2 separate regions of the Homo sapiens genome follow, and region 1 is linked to region 2. The links are contacts of gene promoters, found by promoter capture Hi-C in blood cells and fetal thymus (Javierre and others, 2016). All regions are on one chromosome and are shown on one strand. The core of a region is centred on a gene start or on the middle of the fragment in contact, and the rest is flanking DNA. Distances in the headings are between cores, read along the strand shown.

What was found. Contacts are between HindIII fragments. The CHiCAGO score rates a contact against its expected background, and 5 or more counts as called.
Region 1: a contact is called between a fragment that was not itself captured here and the fragment with the promoter of EOLA1-DT in region 2, in 1 of 17 cell types (endothelial precursors). The highest score is 5.1, in endothelial precursors.

The regions. Positions count from the first base shown.
Region 1 is chrX:149,747,632-149,750,331 of GRCh38, reverse strand. No RefSeq gene overlaps it. Among named protein-coding and RNA genes, the nearest start is that of HSFX1, 25 kb to the left of the region's middle. The HindIII fragment of the contact is 633 bases long and covers 946-1,578 here.
Region 2 is chrX:149,538,103-149,541,001 of GRCh38, reverse strand. It overlaps EOLA1-DT (EOLA1 divergent transcript), which reads left to right and starts at 1,250. Exons shown (of 10, transcript NR_027455.5): 1 at 1,250-1,301; 2 at 2,096-2,278; 3 at 2,830-2,887. It also overlaps a transcript of EOLA1 not described here. RefSeq lists silencers at 397-587, 620-689, 700-1,009, 1,760-1,839. The HindIII fragment of the contact is 11,440 bases long and covers 1-2,899 here.

The DNA of each region.
Region 1 (2,700 bases), core at 13-2,512, 210 kb before region 2:
TCGGGACGACAACATTGCCAGGGTCTTCCAGGGAATGACGGGAGGGGCTGAGTTGGATTCTGTGGCCCCTCTATGTGGGGAGGGTGGACCTTCAGTCCTCACTCAGGAGGATCCTCCTCCTGACTCCTGGCTCTTTCGATGCAGTGATGGGTGGCAGATACTCTGTTTCTGTCACCTCTGAGCCTTTGCCCAGCTGCACCCCTTGCAGAGAATGGCTGCGGGTCCCAGGCCAGGTGCTCCGTGGGGGGGCTGCAGGAGCTGTGATTGTAGTGGCCTCTGGGAGAAGACACGCACCTTCCCAGGGCAGCTCTTCCCCAGCCAGAGGTTGAATTTGCAAACCTTTTACCCTAAAATATTTATTTTTACATTGAGTAGGCTGACCAGCAGCTAGAAATCTAAGGAGTTCTGCCATTGGAATTATCTAACATTTCATAGCTCAGTGCAGTGATTTTCATTTTTAAACTTTCATTCAGCATCAGAAATCATACTTAACCTCATTATGCCTGTTTCATTCTAATGCTCAACACTCTATTTGTAATCCATTCTTTATGTTCAGTTAAGCCAATTCACCTATTAATGTGGTTTTAGGTGGTTATTAGCACAGACTGGAGCTACTACTGTTTCAATGAAACCAGACTACTGGCACCTGTGGTCTCAGGTGCCACCTGACATTTTCACACTGGAATAGGGGCAAAAATTTAAACATTTCCTTCTACACATCCTGTCATCTTCCTTCTATGCCAGCTATGGACTCTCCCTAACTTCCTTGACACTCTGGCCACTTCGATTACAGGTACCAGTTAAATACAGTCTTCATTCTCCCTCAGAGCTTTCTCATGTTTTGTTGTTTAGATTTTGTTGTTTATACTGTTTGTTTGTTATTTTATTCTTCCTTCTATAGTTTTCCAGGGTTCGTTTTGGGAGTGAAGGACAGAAGCCCAAGCTTGACGTTCATATTGCCAGCTAAATTTTAAGCGTTATATCTGTACATCTTGGATAAAGAAAAATTGACATCTTTTCAATAGCCTGTTCCCTATTAAGGGATATGGAATATGGCTCTATTTATCTGGGAAGTTTTTGACCCGAATCTATCAGTATTTGCATAGTTGTTTCCATAAAGATCTTGTATGGTTTGTCTGTCTTATTAGACAATTTCTGGATTTTGTTGCCATTGTGAATGGGGTATTTTCTATTACTTGTTCTGAGTGGTTATTTCATTGGGTTGCAAGGATTTTGATTTTACTGTAGTAACCTGTATACTATTATTCTGAAGTCTGTTATTTGACTATTCCATGTGCACATTTCTTTGAATTTTCTAGATAATCATATTGTCATACCAAATATTAACTCTTTCTGTTCAATATTCATACTGATTTCTTTTGATATCCATATCTCCTGCCTTATGTTACATGCAGTTTCCAAAGATAGAGGTTATAGCCTATGTCCATGACAAGAATTCTTCTAACATTTCATACTTAAGTATGTTGTCCATTGATCTCAGGAAAAGAAAATATGCTGCTAAACTTATTTTGCTAAATGTTTTGACCATTAACTTGTATAGAATTTCATCCAGAAGCTTTTTTATACCTACTAAAGTGATCACTTTTTAAAATCTTAATTCGATAACGTAGGAAATCACAACTGAAAATTGTTTTATATTAAATCATGTTTTTGTTCCTTGGACACAATCCGTTAATTCACTTCTATGTTGAATATGCTACTAATTTAATTAATATATTTGCCTCTGTGTGAGTGAAGTTTGGCTCAAGTGTTTTCACGGTGCTGTCCTCCTCTGGTACCTGAATGAAGAATGGTTAGCTTGGGAAAATAATTTGAATAATTGCCCAACTTTTCGTATGCCTTGGAAGAGTTTACTTAAGGTGGCTTTGAGCTTTACCTGATAACAATGTAGAATTGGCCTCCGAAGCTGCCTTGTCCACATTTGAGGATGGCTTGAGCTTAGATTAGTTTCACTTTTTATTGTTTGGTTAAAGATTTGAATTTCTTTTTGTATCAATTTGTTCATGTACTTATTTTCCTAAAATATTATCCATTTCACTTAGGATTTCAAATTAAATATCATATTTATTTCAAAAATATTTTCATTACAAGCATTTTCAAATACACCTAATAATAGGGTAAATACTATAATTAATCTAATATACCAGACTTTCAGTATCAATAATCTTCAACTCATGGCCAATCTGGTTCTAGTTATACCCCTACCTACTCCGCATAGCAGAAACTGAAATAATGTGGAGCAAATCCAAGACACCATGTGATCTCATCTCCAAATACATCAGAGTGCATTTCTAAAGATAACTACTCTCTTATAAAACATAAAGCCAACATTATTATCTTTCCTAAACATGTAAGCAAGTCATTAATATAATGAAATGTTCACTTATTTGTCACATGTATCTGGTGGACATATGCTCCTGTTAAAATGCAGTTTCTTTGAATCGGTTTGCAAATATGATCTATACATTGTGTTTATGTTCTTAATAGCCACCTTAAGTAATTTATAGATTCCCCCACATTACCTTTTTTTGAAACTCATTTGTTGAAAATGAAGACATGCCTTGTGTTCTGTCCAGTTTCCCATACTCTGGATTTTGCTGAGCGCAATACTTCTCTTCCTGCATTACCTATCTGTTTTTCCATGTTGCCTACTTTTTCCATTAAAGCCTCTTAAATTTT
Region 2 (2,899 bases), core at 1-2,500:
AGCTCCCGTCATCCCTTTCACGAAGAACGTACGTGGGCGCGCAATCACGCATGTATGCACACCACGCACGTACGCGGGAGGCACGTACTCAGCCATGCATATAGACAGCAAACATTATGAATCTCGCATTCTCGAAGACACGCACTGACGACATCACGCACGTACGCACGCCCTGGCTGCTAGGAGACGCTATTCTCTTTACCTGGCCCTGATGCGCGCCAGCCAACCAGGCCAAGGCCAGGGGACCTCGAGACCGGCAGCCTCGACGAAGAACCGGAAGGAGGAAAAGGAACGGGAGGGAGGAAGAGTAAGTGGAAGGGTGGGACGAGGACACCAGGCAGGAGTTTTGGGCCCAGAGCTGCTATACCAGCAGGGAGGAGCTGGGAGAAACCGCTGGGGAGGGGGTGGAGGCGGGGCTGAGAGGAGGAGGGCGGAGCTGGGGGAGGGGCCGAGCGGGACTGACAGAAACAATTGGGGGCTGGGTTGAGGGCGGGGCTGAGATAAGAGGCGGGGTGTGGGGCAGGGCCGGGCGGGGCTGAGAGAAACCATTGTGGGCAGGGCCGTGGGAGAGCTGAGCGAGGAGAAGCTGCAGGAAGAGCTCGCGGACTCTTGAGAATCAGCAGGGGGAGGCAGGTGTCCGCTGAGAGAAGGAGGGAGGGGGAGAAAGAAATCACTGGGAGGGGCTGGGGGCGGGGTTTTTAAAGCAGCTGCGTGAGAAGTAGGGCGGGGCTGGGAGAGGCGGGGCTCTGGGGGGGCTGAGAATGCTGGGGAAGGTTTGGGGGCGGGGCTTTGGAGGCAGCCACAGGAGAAGCAGGTCGGGGCTGCGGGCGGGGCTCGGGGTGGGGCGGGGCTGAGAGAAACTGCTGGGGAGGGGGCCGAGGGCGGGGCTTTGGGAGCAGCCGCGGGAGAAGCGGGGCGGGGCAGGGAGGGGAGGGGCGGGGCAGGGAGGGGCGGGGCTGAGAGAAACTGCTGGCTGAGGTCGGGGCTTTGGAAGCAGCCCCGCGAAGAGCAGGGCGGGGCAATGGGAGAACTGAGCGAGGAGCAGCTGCGGGAGGACCCCTCGGACTCCTGAGAACCAGCTTAGGGGAGCGGGGGCTTGGGGAGGTGTAGGGTGGAATCACGAGAAAGCTCTGTGGGAGGGCCTGGTGCACAGCTCAGCTGCAGCGTGGAGCTGAGGGAAAGCCGGGCGTTCCTGGAGGAGGAGCAGGGCGGGGCTGTGGCAAAGAGGTGTGGGAGCAGATGGGGCGGGGCTGCGGGAAATTGCTGGAGAAGGGGGAGCCAAGCTGGAGTAAGGCTGGCGGGTGAGAATGGTGGGGGAGGAGCTAGTGCAGAGCTGGAGGAAAGAGCTGAAAGGTGCTGGGGTGGGCAGAGGGGTAGGAGAAGCGGGACGGGGCTAGAGGAGGCGGAGCTGGGACTGGAGATGCAGGGTGAGCAGGGTGGGGCTGCAGCAGGAACTGGGTTAGAGCTTCTGGAGGAGCCGCCTGCAAGAGGAGGGCGTAGTTGTGGGAAAGAGCTGTGGGTGGAACTGGTTAAGTGCTGGGAGGAGGAAGAGCTGGGGGCGGAACAGCTGGGGCGGAGCTGCCGGAGGAGGAGCTGGGGGTGGAGATGCTGGTGAAATGAAGCAGAGCCGAACTGGGGGTGGAGCTGTGGGTGGAGCTGGGGGAGGGAGCTGAGGCCCTTCTGTGATGCACCCTTAGGCAAGAGTCAAAACTTGCCCGCAGCGACCTAACTGCACCTCCAGTGTCTACCCCCATAGGGCACGGAAGCAGCAAGAAGGGCGGGAACACTTGACTGGGGTCTATGCAGCTCTAGGCTGAGTCTTGCAGGGCTGAGCCCCCCAGGCCTGCTCTCCTGTGTCCTAGCCGCTCTGTCAGTGCCTGCCAGTGGGGTCCGGAGGAACCGTCTCTTTAACGTCTCTTTTGCAGGTGATGAGAAACATCCCCACTCTTAATGTCTTGCCTCCTCCGACCTAAGTCGCCCAGCACACAGCCCAACTTCCCTGGCAAACTTGCTTTTCAAACTCTCTTCTCTCAGTCACGGGCTCAGGTTCTGTAGTGCTGCCATGCTTTACTCCTCTGTCCCTCCCCTTATCTAGTCTCCCGCATTGACTTCATAACCAAGTTCTGGGTCCCTGCCTCTGGAGTGCCTGATGAGACAAAACGGCTCCTCGTCCTGCATCCCCGCTGCTACTTCCAGAATTCAGGCCTCGTGGTCTGGAGCCTGCACTGTTCCATGAGCCTCCTGAGCAACCTGGAGTCCTCTGTCTTTCTTCCCTCAGGTCTGTCGTCCACATTCCATCGGCTCAGTTTCTAAGTCACAAATCTGTCCCCAGCAATCCTCTAGTGAAAACGCTGCTGGGCCTTCTCAGGTTTAAGTCCTAGCAGTTCAGGGAGTCGGCTCAGCTCTCCCCACCCTTAAGCCAAACACTCTTTGGGTTCACGCTGTGCTGTTCAGTCACTGGTCCCCACCAGCCTGCTGTTCCAGGTCTCCCTGCTTTGCACCGGCGGTTCCCATGGCCTTGTCCTGGTGCGCTCCTGGCCTCCTTCAAGGCACAACTTTAAAGTCACCTTCACAGCCCCACTCCGAGTATTAGAGACTTTCGTCTCCAGCTCTGATAGCATTTTGTACCTCCCCCGTCCCCACCCCACGTTAGGCTCTTGCAACCCAGGGTGGTAATTGCTCTGTAAGACTTGTGGCTGCCGCAGGGTCTCTTGAGTTCCTTGAAGGCAAGGCCGGTGTTTTACTCATTTCTGAAACTGGGTGCCCAGGGCACAGTATCTGCTTAGTAAGTGTTGAATGAGCAAAGGGCTGCTTTCTTGTTTTTTCTAGTGAGATGCGCCTACTTCTCCCTGGAGAAGCTCGAGGAAGCAGGAATGCTGGAGATGAGGTGAGGAGGAGA